Regions from separate parts of the Homo sapiens genome. Here regions 2, 3 and 4 are each linked to region 1. Evidence: promoter capture Hi-C in human tissues and cell types (Jung and others, 2019). All regions are on one chromosome and are shown on one strand. Each heading gives the region's core, a stretch centred on a gene start or on the middle of the fragment in contact. The rest is flanking DNA. Distances are from core to core; before and after follow the strand shown. Region 1 holds the start of MNS1 (meiosis specific nuclear structural 1). Region 2 overlaps NEDD4 (NEDD4 E3 ubiquitin protein ligase). Region 3 has its middle 57 kb from the start of LINC03065. Region 4 overlaps RFX7 (regulatory factor X7).

Region 1 (4,020 bases), core at 815-3,314:
ACATTATGTATTTCTCAAAACCCACCTGGGAGCAGTGGCTCATGCCTATACTCCCAGCACTTTGGGAGGCCAAGGTGGGTGTATGACTTGAGGTCAGGAGTTCAAGACCAGCCTGGCCAAACTGGTGAAACTCCGTCTCCACTAAAAATACAAAAATTTGCTTGTAGTCTCAGCTACTTGGGAGGCTGAGGCAGGAGAATCGCTTGAACCTGGGAGGTAGAGGTTGCAGTGAGCCGAGATCATGTCACTGCACTACAGACTGGGCAACATAGCCAGACTTCATCTCAGAAAAAAAACAAAACAAATCCTCATAGACCTGTACAAAACAAAGAGTGAACCCTAATGTCAATTACGAACTTAATCATATTAATATTGGTTCGTCAAGTGTAACAAATGTACTACACTAATATGTAATGCTAAAAATAGGGGAAATTGTATGGGTGCGGTGGGGAGGAGAGGTGAGACGGGGAATTCTCTGTATTCTGTCAATTTTTCTGTAAACCTAAAACTGCTTCGAAAAAGGAGCAAAGTCTATTAAAAATGTAGTAATTGTTAGGATAATTTTTTAAAGGTTAAAATCAGCTAATTGTTACAATTGATTAAATTTGTCTTGGATTTAGGTCAATATTCTGGCCAAAAATCTTTTTCTCAGATTACCTATGAAATTATATGAATCCTTCTACCATATCCAAGGGTATACTGGAAATGAGGAATTATAACTGAAGTTCCCTTTAGAGACGAAAGTCTTCATTTCGAGAAGTAAACAGTAAAAAACATACATGTTTGCTGAAATACTTTGCAATGTCACTATTTCACTATTAGGAATTAACAAATTAAACCCCACACTCTATTGAATGTGTTATACCCTGTTCAACCCTGAACCCATGCCTGTCTCCTGTCTCTTCTATACAGTGCCCAACCCTTTGCGGAGATGGATATGCCAAGAAGAGAAATTTATAGCAGGCTGCCTGCTTTGCTCCATTCCAGATCAATTTACACAGAACACCCAGAGGGCAGGTTTACGCCTTCTCTCCATTTCTCTCAAACAGTGATGGCAATGAGTGGAGTACTAGAGACAACATAGATATGCAACCACGGGATAAATGACCAAAGGACAGAGAGACGAGCGACCTCAGTTGTATGATGGAACCAAGAGAAGTCGCTGATTTTTAGTTGTTTTGATCTGGTTGTAAGGATGGGGTGACAACTTCCAAGCTTTTACACGTCAGCACTGAAACTGCAAGTCCCATTTGTTATTAATCTTTAAGCAGACATATTGCTACAGAAGACGGACTCCAAATTAGAATAACACAAAGTTATACCACTAATCACCTTATACAAATATTTTAGTGTTGACAAGATTTCTCTGAATGTATCATTTCTAAAATCAGTATATCTAATTTCTCTGATCCATTATCATTCTTAAACTTCCCATTTAAAATGGACTTTAGTGTCTAACCTGCCTATGGAATGAACCAGATCAACATCCTGCCATCATGTAACGTGCTCTCTCTTGGTACCTGGACCACATAGCAGAGTAAGATTCATGTGGCTCATAGATTTTAGTCCCAAAATTTACCAGCAGCTTCTGCGGGGGGGGGGGGGGGGCGGGGGGGTGAAGTGAAGGCTGCTGGAAGCTCGTGCTACCCTCAGTGCCTCACAACCCAGCAAAGGGGACAGCGACCTGGACTCCCATTGCTGAGGATTAAACCAGTCATCGTCCCTAGCAGAGACCTGGCTGACTAGGCACTTAGTGTGCGGGATGCTCCATGCGTGGAAATTTCCTTCGGCTCCATGCATTAGGCAGTAGTTTGCGTATTTCTCTGTGCGCAGTCTCCACAGTCCCGAACTTGGCTCCCAAACCCACTGAAACCACAGTTCGGCCGCTGGAGGGAAATCGAGCTTCCCTAGCCCACTGCAAAGTGCTTGGGTCAGGCCACAGTCTGAACTTCCCGCTTTTCTAGTTTAGACCTATAGAAGTAGCCCTCCTGCCCTGGTCCTAAGAAGCTCAATGCCGATTGTATCTTATCGCGTCCAATGGGAGGCCACGTTCTGCGTGGGTCACTTTTGGTCGAGCGGAGGGCGCGCAGCTCCACCGTTGCCAAGACGCCGCGTAAACACCCGAGCGCGCGCAGCCAGGTGCGCTCCTTGGGGCTGCTGGCTGCTGCGTTTGCGGCGGGAGGTGGTGGCCGCGGTCCCACGAGAGGGGGTATTTTTCGTCAGCCAAGATGGTGAGCCAGTTGGGGGACTTGAAACTACTTGTTTATTGTTGATTTAATTCTAGTTTGGCGCTCATCTGCTTCTAAAAAAGGATTTTAAGTGCTTAATCTGGTCATTAATTGGGGAACTTGTATTTGCTTTCGGAGGCTTCAGGTGCTATTAGAAGGGACGCTCGCGGTGGTTTCCAGCTTTTTTGGCACTTTTCGCATAGTGTATTAAATACATCTTTAAATCTGCCCAATAGAACCTCTGAAGAAATAAGTAGATATAAAAGTGTAGGAGAAAGCGAATTGATAAATAGCGGCGAATTGACCTATTACATTTATGTTAGGAAAATCTGACCAGCTTCTGAACAGCACTTTATGGCCCTGTGGTGGTAGTCGTGGTGGTGGTGGTGGTGGGTGGAATGAGGGGAGGAGAAATTCCCTGGTGGTAGTAAAGATCTGGGTCTGTAGGGTGCGATTAATCCTAGCACAGCTATTTATTAGCTGCAGAACCTTGGGTAAAGTTACTTTTCATGTTTCATCTATAAAATAGGTAATAATAACAGTACCTATTTAATCGATATGTGAACATATTTACCACGTTTACTTTTTATTCGGTATACTCCTTTGAATTTAGGAAGGAAGCCAGGCTCTTCGTATCCTTTCTTACTAAGGTTTATATCAATACATTTTTTAAAATTAGATTTTGGAATATCAAAATATGCATCTTTTTTTTTCTTCCATCGTAGGGTTCCAAAAGGAGAAATTTGAGCTGTAGTGAAAGGCATCAGAAATTAGTAGATGAAAACTACTGCAAAAAATTACATGTCCAAGCTCTAAAAAACGTCAACAGTCAAATCAGGAATCAAATGGTGCAGAATGAAAATGATAACCGTGTTCAGCGCAAGCAATTTCTCAGATTATTACAAAATGAACAATTTGAGTTGGATATGGAAGAGGCCATTCAAAAGGTAAGTTTTACTATTCATTGTTACTTTTTTTTTCATTTTGCACCTTGGAAACGATGAAAGTCAGCTGTTAATGCTGGAAATGAGTAGATAAACAACAGCAGCAGGTAAGTGATGCCTGATTGTGCCTCAGCTCGGTGTAATCGTAAAGACCTGGGTTTCTGGAGCCGGCCTGTCTTTGAATCCTACTACTGCTATACCTTAGCTACGGACCCTTGAGTAAGTTGCTTTTACTTTTTTTTTTTTTTGGATGGAGTCTTGCTCTGTCGCCCAGGTTGCAGTGCAGTGGCACGATCTTGGCTCACTGCAACCTCTGCCTCCGGGGTTCAAGCGATTCTTCTGCCTCAGCCTCCTGAATAGCTGGGACTATAGGCGCGCAACACCACGCCTGGCTAATTTTTTAATTTTTAGTAGAGACGGGGTTTCACCATATTGACCAGGCTGATCTCGAACTCCTAACCTCGTGATCCGCCCGCCTCGGCCTCCCAAAGTGCTGGGATTATAGGGGTGAGCCACCGCGCCCAGCCTGCTTTTATTTTTTATGCTTTTTCTATAAAATGGGGAATAAGAATAGTACCTCCTACTTAGGATTGTTTTAATAATGAGTTAATACATGCAAGACTCTTGGAATAGTGCCTGGTACAGAATAAGCACTCAGATTTTTTTTTAACATAAATATGAACTCTGTAATTACTACCAGTTTTGTTCATGTAAGTACAATTGTGTTGCCTTTCATAAATTTCTAAAAACAAAAATTTAGGGGTGCCTTTAAAAAATTTACTGAAATTAATGTATACATTATTAAGTGGTAGAAAATGAACCCTTAGGTATATCTCAACATTTTAAGG
Region 2 (4,020 bases), core at 520-3,019, 480 kb after region 1:
TAGTGAATAGTCGCTGAGTCAGTGTCTGAGCATATTAGCACTGAAGTATGCTAAAATGTAGATCATAATACCTTTCTCTCACTTTTCAGTGAGTTTTGGCTCTTCTTCCACATATAAGTGACTTATAGTAAGAGATCACCCTGGCTGCATGTGCAGGATTTTACCTTTAAAGTGTTAACAAACAAAGGAGGAAGTGTAGTATAATTTATACCAGATTTGCTCTGGTCACTTGAGATTCACAGTAGAGAATAACATGCACTGATCTTTATTGGAGAGCAGTGTGGTGGATGCGGGGACTGGAATTGAGCATCACTTCCCACCTCCTTCCCATGCACCTCCCTGTGATATGGAGGTGGGAAAACTAAACACTGTTTCCCACACTCCATTGAAATTAATGGACTGGATCCAAAGTAGGCTCCCCAGTTAAGTGCACTTACTTGAGATTTGCAGAGTGGAAATGAGGTGGAGCATATTGTTTTGTTTCTTTGGCTTTTTCTGCTGATAAGCACAGTCATGTAAACATCTAAATTTTCTGCGAAAGTATTCCAGTATCTGGTAACTTGCTTTGTACATATTGATAGGAAGTCACCGAAGTAGTGGTGGTAGTGGCTTCCAGACGTCAAGATTGATTATATTCTTGAAGTCATCAGTTCTGGTGATGACTCCTGATCATCTACCTTTCTGACTGGGAGAGGTAGTAGCTTCCTGGATGGGTCAGTTCTGCCATGTTTCTGATCTTCTAGAACTGCAGTCCCCAACTGTTTTGGCACCAGGGACCGGTTTCATGGAAGATAGTTTTTCCATGGACCGGGGATGCGGTCCAGTGGTTTCAGGATGATTCAAGCACATTACATGTATGGTGCACTCTACTTCTATTATGATTACATTGTGATATGTAATGAAGTAATTATACAGCTCACCGTAATGTAGAATTAGTGGGAGCCCTGAGCTTGTTTTCCTGCAACTAGATGGTCCCAAGTGTGGGTGACGGTAATGGGAGACAGGGAGACAGTGACAAATCATCAGGCATTAGATTCTTATAAGGGGTACACAACCTAGATCGCTTGCATGGACAGTTCACAATAGGGTTCATGCTCTTATGAGAATCTAATGCCGCTGCTGATCTGACAGGCAGCAGAGCTCCGGAGGTAATGTGATCGGTGAGGAGTGGCTGTAAATACAGATGAAGCTTTGCTCACTGGCCTGCCACTCACCTCCTGCTGTGTGGCTGGTTCCTAAGGTTGGGGACCCCTGCTCTAGAAGTCCAGCCTAGCACCTACTCTTCCAGCTCTTCCAAAAATTTTGTAAGCATCTAATCCCCTGTATTAGCTTCTTTCTTCTTAAAGCATCTAGAATGATTTCTGTTTCCTATAAGAAAGGCTGACTGAAGCAAGGAAAAGAAGGAAGGAAATAAAGAGGAAAGAGTTCAGAGTCTCCGCTATCGGTATGGAGAGTGCAGTTTGCACATACAGAATAATAGATGCCCCTGGTGGCAGCAGCCACAACAGTGCATAAGTAGCAGGGTAAGAAGGGCATATTCTGATACTTCTGGACCCACTAAGGCTGAGCAGAAACTGACCCTTACTCAGTCTGGGAACAAACTTCCCAAACCTTTATGTACTACACACAAAGGAGGAGAAGCATAGGTTAAGCAGCAGCTGTATTAGTAATTTCTCCCAATCTTTCATGTATTGTTTTTGCCATTAGTGCTTTTTTGCAACTCTTTAATTCCAGGATCATTGTAAAGTATTTTTCATGGAGCAGGGACTAAAGAAGTGAATAAATATAGTGTATTTTTAAAATAATTTATTTTTAAATTATGTATTTACTTTTGAGACGGAGTCTTGCTCTGTCACACAGGCTGGAGTGCAATGGCGTGATCTCAGCTCACTGCACCCTCTGCCTACCAGGTTCCAGCGATTTTCCTGCATCACCCTCCAGGGTAGCTGGGATTATAGGCACGCACCACCACGCCCAGCTAATTTTTGTATTTTTGGTAGAGATGGGGTTTTACCATGTTGGCCAGGCTGGTCTCGAACTCCTGACCTCAGATGATCCGCCTGCCTCGGCCTTCCAAAGTGCTGGGATTATAGGCGTGAGGCACCGCGCCCGTCCTATTTTAAAATTATTTTAAACCATCAGAAAAGTTGAAAGTACAACACAAAGAGCTCCAGTATTCTTCTCATACAGATTCTGCAACTGTTAACCTTTTCACTGCAATTGTTCCATCACCTTTTTTTGCCATTTTCATTAATCTTTTTCTGAACCACTTGAGAGCAAGCTGCAGACACAATGCCCCATCATCTTTAAATACTCTAGTGTGTATTTTTCTAAAACAAGAATACTTTCCTGCATAACAACCATACCCCCTTCCAAGCTAGGAAATGGACACTGATACAACAATGCCATTCAATCCACAGATACCATCCAAATTTTGATAAATGTTACTAATAATTTCTCTTTTTCCTTTTCTGGTCTAAGAACCTATCTGGGAACATATATTGCTTTTACGTGGCATGTCTTTGCAGTCTCTTCTAATCTGTAACATTTCCTCAGTTTTTCTTTTTTTTTTTTTTTTTTTAATTTTTTTTTTTATTATACTCTAAGTTTTAGTGTACATGTGCACATTGCGCAGGTTAGTTACATATGTATACATGTGCCATGCTGGTGTGCTGCACCCACTAACGTGTCATCTAGCATTAGGTATATCTCCCAATGCTATCCCTCCCCCCTCCCCCGACCCCACCACAGTCCCCAGAGTGTGATATTCCCCTTCCTGTGTCCAAGTGATCTCATTGTTCAATTCCCACCTATGAGTGAGAATATGCGGTGTTTGGTTTTTTGTTCTTGCGATAGTTTACTGAGAATGATGGTTTCCAATTTCATCCATGTCCCTACAAAGGACATGAACTCATCATTTTTTATGGCTGCATAGTATTCCATGGTGTATATGTGCCACATTTTCTTAATCCAGTCTATCATTGTTGGACATTTGGGTTGGTTCCAAGTCTTTGCTATTGTGAATAGTGCCGCAATAAACATACGTGTGCAATGACTTTCTTCACAGAATTGGAAAAAACTACTTTAAAGTTCATATGGAACCAAAAAAGAGCCCGCATCGCCAAGTCAATCCTAAGCCAAAAGAACAAAGCTGGAGGCATCACACTACCTGACTTCAAACTATACTACAAGGCTACAGTAACCAAAACAGCATGGTACTGGTACCAAAACAGAGATATAGATCAATGGAACAGAACAGAGCCCTCAGAAATAATGCCACATATCTACAACTATCTGATCTTTGACAAACCTGAGAAAAACAAGCAATGGGGAAAGGATTCCCTATTTAATAAATGGTGCTGGGAAAACTGGCTAGCCATATGTAGAAAGCTGAAACTGGATCCCTTCCTTACACCTTATACAAAAATCAATTCAAGATGGATTAAAGATTTAAACGTTAGACCTAAAACCATAAAAACCCTAGAAGAAAACCTAGGCATTACCATTCAGGACATAGGCGTGGGCAAGGACTTCATGTCCAAAACACCAAAAGCAATGGCAACAAAAGCCAAAATTGACAAATGGGATCTAATTAAACTAAAGAGCTTCTGCACAGCAAAAGAAACTACCATCAGAGTGAACAGGCAACCTACAACATGGGAGAAAATTTTCGCAACCTACTCATCTGACAAAGGGCTAATATCCAGAATCTACAATGAACTCAAACAAATTTACAAGAAAAAAACAAACAACCCCATCAAAAAGTGGGCGAAGGACATGAACAGACACTTCTCAAAAGAAGACATTTATGCAGCCAAAAAACACATGAAGAAATGCTCATCATCACTGGCCATCAGAGAAATGCAAATCAAAACCACTATGAGATATCATCTCACACCAGTTAGAATGGCAATCATTAAAAAGTCAGGAAACAACAGGTGCTGGAGAGGATGTGGAGAAATAGGAACACTTTTACACTGTTGGTGGGACTGTAAACTAGTTCAACCATTGTGGAAGTCA
Region 3 (4,020 bases), core at 926-3,425, 360 kb before region 1:
ACTACCCTGAGTCTCTCTCCTGCCTCCTTGATACCTGTAAACTGGTATAAAGCAGAATTCTATACCTTACACCAAGTGGGGCCTGGGGCCCTTGGAGTCCAGCTTGGGATAACAAGAAAGCAGTGAGAGTCAGTTGTTTTGTTCCCTAAAGCGGTTCTAGGTTTGAAAAGGTTTGAAATTAATCCTCTAGGAAGGTAATTAGCTTTCAAACAACATAACACTTCAAAAAAATCAATGCAAAATATAAGACAAAAGGTCGCTGTTTAAAGTAGTTGAGTTCTAGATCTGACAGTATTGTGGCTCTCTTGGTTGTAAATTAGCTCACGGAGATAAAATGTCTGAGTTTAGGACTTCAGATCCTGCCTTTGCTGTCAGATTGCCTCAAGCTGTCTCTGGTAGGAAAGTCTAGAAACATGGATTCATTATATACCCCCCCACTTTCTGACATGCTCCAAATCTGTTAGTGTCTGTAACAGAGCTCTGCATTGCATTGATTTGTCTTACTGTGTGAGGAAATTATGGGAATAACTCCCATGTGTCAGCAACCATTTAGTCAGCACACAGTTCCTTACCAGGGAAAATGGCAAGATTTATTAGGGAAAGTATCTGTCATCCCATATAAATAGATGCACAGTTAAAGCATATGTAGCAGGCAGGGTGTATGTTTCTGTGTGACTGATCATAAGGAACTTATTATCAGGAACGCTGTAGAAAAATCAGTCATTTGGGAAGGTGGCAAGCATAAGGGTACACTTATACTTCATGCAAAATGTCCCTCAAAATTGTAATTTTGGCTTTAAGTGCATTGTTGCGGTAGGAATCATTTTTATTAAAAATATATTTTTGCTTTAATTTTTTTACTATTGAGAAAATATATGCAAGTGATAAAACAGGCAAATAATAGAAAAAGGATGTAAAGGTCTTTTTCCTCTGCTTATGCCAGTCTCCTGTGTCCCTCTCCCTCAGAGGCCATCACTGTTGCCAATTTATTTTGTGTCATTAGGAAGTCTGCACAAACAAGCTCATCCTCTTCTTCAGCATTACACACATGGTAGTCCACACCCCACACTCTTCTGAAGTAGTTCTGGAAATCATTTCTTATTAGTCTGCAGTATGATCCAGGCTTATTGTTTTTCATAGATTTAACCAATGTTGACATCTTGCCTGACTTTAGAGTTTTTTGCTTGTTTGTTTTAACATTACAGATACATTTTAACCATAGCACCCACTGCCCAATTCCATTGCTCTCTGCCCAGAGATAATCACTATCCTGAAATTAGCATGTATCCTTCCTTCCTGGTTCTTACATATTTTGCACATACATAGTTGATATTTCATTGTGTGACTTTGGCACCATTTATTGATCCACCATTCTTTTTTTTCCCTTTTTCTTTCTTTTTTTTTTTTTTTTTGGAGACAAGGTCTCATTCTGTCACCCAGGCTGCAGTGCAGTGTTGTGATCTCAGGTCCCTGCAGCCTCAATCTCCCCAGGCTCAGGTAATCCTCCCACCTCAGCCTTCTGAGTAGCTGAGACTACAGGCATGAGCCACCATGCCGGGCTAATTTTTGTATTTTTTGTGGAGGCAAAGTTTTACCATGTTGCCCAGGCCAGTCTTGAACTCTGGGGCTCAAGAGGTCCGCCTGCCCACATTGGTCTCCCAAGGTGCTGGGATAAAGGTATGAGCCACTGAGCCCTGTCCACAATTATATTTTTGAACATTTAGGTTGGTTCCAATGTTTTGCTATTAAAAACGGTGCTACAAAAAACAATGTATTTCATTTCTCCTTGGGCATATGCGTGAGAATTTTTTAGGATACATACCCACAGGCAGAATTGCTAGGTCATAGGTTAGCATGTGCTCATCAACTTTGTTTGATATTGCAACATTGTCCTCCAATGTGATTTTCTACAATACACATTCACACCAGCCATATTTACAAGTTCTTTTTTTCTTTTTCTTCCACATCCTTACCAACACTTGGGCTTCTCAGACTTCTAAATTTTGCCCTTCTGATGGATGTGAAATAGTACTTCATTGTGGTTTTAATTTGCATTTATTACTGAAGTTGAGTATCTTTTATGTTTTTTGGCTGTTTAGTTTCCTTCTAACAATTAACTGTTGATATCATCGACAAATTTTCTACTGTATTGCTTGCTTTTTTCTTATTCATTTATAGAGATTTAAAAATACTCTTGATGCTAATACCCAGTAATATATACTATAATTAACTTCTCCAATGGCTTGCATTTTCACTGTGTCTGGCGTCTTTTGTTTCATAGAATTTTAATATTTAAATGTATTCAAATGATCACTGTTATCATTTATGCTTTTGTTATTTTATTTAAGAAAACTGAAAATGTAATGAAGACATTCTCCTGTATTTACTTTGTAATTTTAAGATTCCCCCTGTCACCCTACCATACATTTAAGGTTTTTAGCCCATGTAGGATGTATTTTGTTGTGGTATGAAATGGGGATGTAAATTCCTTTTCCCTGTACATAGCCAGTTGTCTTAGGACCACTTAGCTAATGTTTGCCACTCCCTGCTGATATGTAAGAGACTTCTGTTCCATATCAATTTTCCATGTATGTATTTGTCAGTATCTATACCCTTTATTCCATTCTTTTGGCCTATTTTTACTTTTTAATTTTTGAGACAGAGTCTCGCTTTGTTACCCAAGCTGGAGTGCAGTGGCATGATCTCAGCTCACTGCAACCTCTGCCTCCCGAGTTCAAGCAATTCTCATACCTCAGCCTCCAGAGTAGCTGGAATCACAGGCATGCACCACCACACCCACCTAATTTTTGTATTTTTAGTAGAGACGGGGTTTTACCATGTTGGCCAGGCTGGTCTCTAACTTCTAACCTCAAGTGATCCTCCCACCTCGGCCTCTCAAAGTGCTGGGATTACAGGTGTAAGCCACCACGCCAGGCCCTTTCAGCCTATTTTTATATTCCTGTCCCCAAAGCCGCACTTCTTAAAAGAATTATAACCTTGTATAATTAGCCTGGTAGGGCAAATCACCTCTCCTTAGTTTTCTTTTTTGAACATTTCTGTGCTAGTTGAGTGTCTAATCTTCCACACCAACTTTTGGGTTAGATTGTTAAATTCCATGAAGCCTTGTTGGGATTCTGGTTGGAATTACAATGATTCATAGATTCATTATAAATTCACAGGGTGATCTGCCAGATTGACACAATTATCTTTCCATCCCTCAGTGTCTCATCATTTATCCAGTGCATATTTTATGTCGTGTTTTATAATTTTGCCTAAATAGGTCTTGCAGATATTTCTGCCTAGATATCTATTCTAAATGGGAGAGCACACACACACACACACACACACACACACACACACAAATTTTTTCTCCTCTCACACCATATCCTGAACATGTATTCAGAATGCTGAATTTTCCTGTTTGAATTGTTTGTCTACACACTCTCCTGCATTTTTAATGTAAATTATCAGATAGTTTATAAATAAGAACAATTTTTCCCCTTCTTTCTAATTCTTATTCTTTTAAAGAGTATTGGCACTGGCTAGGACTTTTAATATTAATATAATGGTTAAGAGAAGCTGTAATAACAGACACTCTTGACTTGCTCCTGACTCTAAAGAGAATGCTTCTAACGTTTGACCACTAAGCATCAGGTTTTCTGTGGGTTTTTGGTAACTTTATACTTGGGAGAGATTGCTGATCCCTCCCTCTCACATTGGTTCTCCCTTTTTGCCTCTGTATAATCTCTATTTTATTTGGAGACATCAGTGTCAAGAAAATTGCCTGCATTTCAATGCCACCTTCCAGTGGGTGAGGGCATATAACATAGTTCCTGCCATTGGGATGTAAGTAGAAGTGATATATGCAAATTCCAGTAGTACCCCTAAAGTGGAAACATAATCACTCCTCCCTTTTCTCCTTCCTGCCACCTAGAATGCAGATGTAATGACTGGAATTCGCGCAATCATATTGTACTTGATGTGATCTTAGGAACAGAGATCTTACCAAACATCAAAATA
Region 4 (4,020 bases), core at 1,087-3,586, 270 kb after region 1:
GAGGAGATTACTTCGTAATTTTTTGATCTCCTTAGATAGCCTTCTCCTTTATAGATTGAAATGCTTTTAGGCTGGATTTTCTTTCCTTTGGTTCTATTACTGCCTTGTGGAAGAGAATTTTAATATTAACTATCAAATTGGTTTTCGAATTGTTTTGCCTTTTGTGATAAGAAAAGTTCTGTGATTCTTGGGTTTAAGTGGAGGACTACAGGACATTGAACTTGGCGACTTTATTTTTTGGACCAGATTTGGGATACTGAACCCTTTACTGCCCTAATAAACTCTTAACTCTAGAAAAGAGTAATAAGTCATGTCTTACAAGTATACCTGTAGGCCATTTTAGCTACAGTTTTAAGAAATGTTCTCATATTAATTTATATGAGACACTGGTATAGTCCGTAGTCTTCCCATTAAGCACCATTACCTGGATATGCCACCTTAATGGAATTCTCATTTTAACTTCAGCTCTCTAAACCATTTCCATTTTGGTTTTCTTTTTTATAATCATTTAAGCACCTAATACCATGGGCTGGTTTAATGCTTTTCAGTTAAAAAAAAAAAGACTTGTACATACATAGCATGTCACCTATTAGTGGCACCTAAAGTACATTCAAAAAATTGAAGTCACATTTATCCTCTTGTTTTTCTCAATTTAAAGATCTGCCTTATCTCTGACACAACTTTTTCTTTTTTTTTCTTTTTGAGACGGCGAGGCTTGCCAGGCTGGAGTGCAGTGGTGCGACCTCTGCTCACTGCAACCTCCGACTCCCTCATTCAAGCATTTCTCCTGCCTCAGCCTCCCGAGTAGCTGGGATTACAGGCATGCACCACCACACCCAGCTAATTTTTGTATTTTTAGTAGAGACAGGGTTTTACCATGTTGGCTAGGATGGTCTCGATCTCCTGACCTCGTGATCCGCCCACCTCGGCCTCCCAAAGTGCTGGGATTACAGCACTTTTACGACTTTTTCTTAATGTAACATTAGATACTAAGCTGCATGGTTTGTAACTTCCTCTGAAACTATGCAGTAGGAGAAGAAGAGTTGTTTTCCCCACTGTGCAATCCAGTGATGTTATCTTGCCCTGTGTTTTAGCTTCTTTTTAAATGTTTTATATGTTATAAAAACTTAAACAATAACAAAAAGTTTTAAAAGCTTTTTAAATGTTTGAAAAGAAAGTAAAGGCTTAAAATCTCATCTCCCAGAGAGAACAGTCATCCTTACAGATGGGTCGCTGTGCATGTAGCTATCTCATGTTTTCATTTCATTATTTTTATGGAGATTGTTTCCTGTTCTGTAGACTAGGTAAATTTGCCTGTATTTGGAACCTGCACCTACCTCTGAAGGTTCAGCACTAGAGGGCACTGACCTTTAATTCAGCTTATTTACTGACAATATATAATGTTTCTATGACAGAGGAAGTTCCAAAATGGTAAGACTGGGGCACAAAATATTCTTCTTGATTAAAATCCCAGTGTAAAGTGGAGGCATTATTATCAGACATAATCATAGCATTTTTAACTGGATAATGGAGCCAAATAAAAATCAGTGTGTGACCTTGTACAAGTCATTTTTTATCCTAATTTGTAAATGAAAGGGTTAGACTAGATTTAGTTTTAATGTAGCATTTATTAAGAACCTATTACATGCTTGTTATTACAATATGGCTTTTTATGTAAATGTTGAATCTTTATTTTAAAAACTCGAGATGTAGTATGCCTCGGGAAAAATGATTCTTCTAAGTCAAGGGCATATAGCTAGTAGTTGCAGAATTGGAATTCTTCCTGTCAAGACCATGTTTTTGGTTCCTGCTATATTTACCATGGTGTTTCTTACTAAATAAATTTATTTGAAGATCTTCTTAACTTTAAGGAGTATATTATATGTGCAAATGCTTTCCTGTTATTTGACATATTTGAATCCTGTTGACTCTTTGAGCTTTTAATATTAATATCAACCTGAAAATGCTTGCATTAAAGAAAACAGGGAAGGCATATAGATTGAGGCTAAAGAGAGCAGCACAATTTGTTCAGTACTCTGCCTCCCCAAAATACATATTTTTACAATCCTGTTAGAGCAAATTAGCTATTTTTAAATATTACAATGGTAAAATTCAGCATTTGGAGCAACCAGCAATCACGTAAGGAAAGATACCTATACGTGGAAGGACAGCAAAAAAGGAAAATAACTCATTAGAAAGCAAAAATGAGTCATTATATCCTACACTTTCAAATAATATTCTTTCAGTATCACTCAGTGGTAACTTAAGTAAATACTGATTAACAGTCACTCAGTAGACTGGTTATAGTGGTTGAATCTTTGATTTACAGCCTTCTCTTGTAAATTTTAAGTTTTTCACAGTTTAAATCAACATCAGAAGGTTTTTAGGTGTCAGACTGCAGTCTCTTAGCTGTAGGTCCTACATGGTTTATTTGCTTTTCCTTTTAAAAGGATCTGCTAAGTCCTTCCTCTCTTTTAACTTTTTTTTTTTTCTTTGTCAGAGATGGGGTCTTGCTATGTTGAACAGGCTGGTCTTGAACTCCTGGCCTCAAGTGATCCTTCCATCTTGGCCTCCCAAAGTGCTGGGTTACAGGCCTGAGCCACCACACCCAGTCCCCTCTTTTAACTTTTCATTGTAAAAAATTTCGAATGTATACAAAAGGAGAGAAAAGACAATGAACTCTCAGGTCTTTATTATTCAACTTTAACAATTAGTTTCATAGCTAATCTTATTTATCTGTAAGTCTTCATTGGTTATTTTGAAGGGAATCCCAGACATCATATCACATTTACAGTTTGTTTGAATCAGTGTCCTTATGGCTACTGGTGGATATCTCTCAAACTGTAGATCCCTTTAAAAAATTTTTTCTTGAAGTTTTTTATTTGTTGAAGAAATTGGATCCTTTGTCCTATGGAGTTTCCCACAGTCTGGATTTGCTGATTTTATCTTCATGGTGCTATGTAGCATATTCCTCTTCCCCTTTATTACTATAAATTGGTAGTTAAATAGAGATATGTTTCAATATTTCAGCAAGAATACTTTGTAGGTGGTGTTGCGTACTTACATTGGGAGGCTGAGTCCCTTTTACTCTAATGGAACATATTTCCTTGACTATACTGAACTAGACATACGTTGCTCTAGGGAGAGATGTTTTTCTTTTGAGGGCGTCTGAGGCAAAAGTCATTCTAGGTCCCATTCTTTTTTTTCTTTTTTATACTGCCTCCACTACAGCATTCCACCTTTGAACTTCAGGTTAGGGATTGTTGGGAAGAGGCTATTACCCACCTGTTGTATGCTCCTAAATTATTTAGTTAAGAATGTAGAAACCAAGTGACTATTCTGAATAGCAGCAAATACAGTATATCTAAAAAAGTTTTTCCCATCTCTTTAGGTTTCCTGTGGTACATATAGCCACCGTCCCTACGAGAAAGGTTCAGCTAGCATTGCTGTATCAAGTTCTGAATATATCATTGCCTTTTTGTACCTAGGCTTTCTTGAACATTCTGCAAAGACTTAATAAATGATATTTATAACATCACAATTTTCTGGATTTTGAACTAATTCAGCACTAGCAAGACCATATTCTCATCCTGGGGGAGAGAAAGCAGAGTCAGTGCCCAGATGCACTTAAGTGGTATATTTACCTCTAGCATTCCAGAATCCTGGAAAGCCCATCTTCCTGCAGTCCACCCCTTGAATCTGTTTTAATACCCTTTGACTTCTGTGGTTCAAATATATAGTTTGTATCAAAGACCATGATCCAAATACTTTTTTTCCACACTCCTATCCCTACTTTGCTTCCCTTTCTCTCCCTTCTCTTTCTTCCATCCTTCCTTTTATTGGTCACATGTTTATAATTGCCTAACGTGTACCAGGCAAAGTGCTAGACTTAGGAAGCAGGTTAACAAGACATAGGCCTTGTGTGCAAGGGAAGGGATGGCCCACTGGGACATTTCATTATCTATATGAAAAAAAAACTATCACATCACACATGGAATCCAGAAAAACTCAGCCCCCAAA

Evidence for each region. Contacts are between HindIII fragments. The study calls those that stand out against the background at their distance.
Region 2: a fragment that was not itself captured here is called in contact with the fragment with the promoter of MNS1 in region 1 in 1 of the 25 tissues and cell types used here (lymphoblastoid cells).
Region 3: a fragment that was not itself captured here is called in contact with the fragment with the promoter of MNS1 in region 1 in 2 of the 25 tissues and cell types used here (lymphoblastoid cells and mesendoderm cells).
Region 4: a fragment that was not itself captured here is called in contact with the fragment with the promoter of MNS1 in region 1 in 1 of the 25 tissues and cell types used here (dorsolateral prefrontal cortex).

Annotation. Positions count from the first base shown.
Region 1 is chr15:56,463,181-56,467,200 of GRCh38, reverse strand. MNS1 (meiosis specific nuclear structural 1) reads left to right here and starts at 2,064. Exons shown (of 10, transcript NM_018365.4): 1 at 2,064-2,231; 2 at 2,954-3,175. The coding sequence starts at 2,229. RefSeq lists a silencer at 1,885-2,134. The HindIII fragment of the contact is 6,259 bases long and covers 1-4,020 here.
Region 2 is chr15:55,987,049-55,991,068 of GRCh38, reverse strand. The region is part of intron 1 of NEDD4 (NEDD4 E3 ubiquitin protein ligase); the gene reads left to right. Among named protein-coding and RNA genes, the nearest start is that of NEDD4, 4.6 kb to the left of the region's middle. The HindIII fragment of the contact is 4,583 bases long and covers 1-4,020 here.
Region 3 is chr15:56,828,213-56,832,232 of GRCh38, reverse strand. No RefSeq gene overlaps it. Among named protein-coding and RNA genes, the nearest start is that of LINC03065, 57 kb to the left of the region's middle. The HindIII fragment of the contact is 8,071 bases long and covers 1-4,020 here.
Region 4 is chr15:56,197,474-56,201,493 of GRCh38, reverse strand. The region is part of intron 2 of RFX7 (regulatory factor X7); the gene reads left to right. Among named protein-coding and RNA genes, the nearest start is that of RFX7, 44 kb to the left of the region's middle. The HindIII fragment of the contact is 4,144 bases long and covers 265-4,020 here.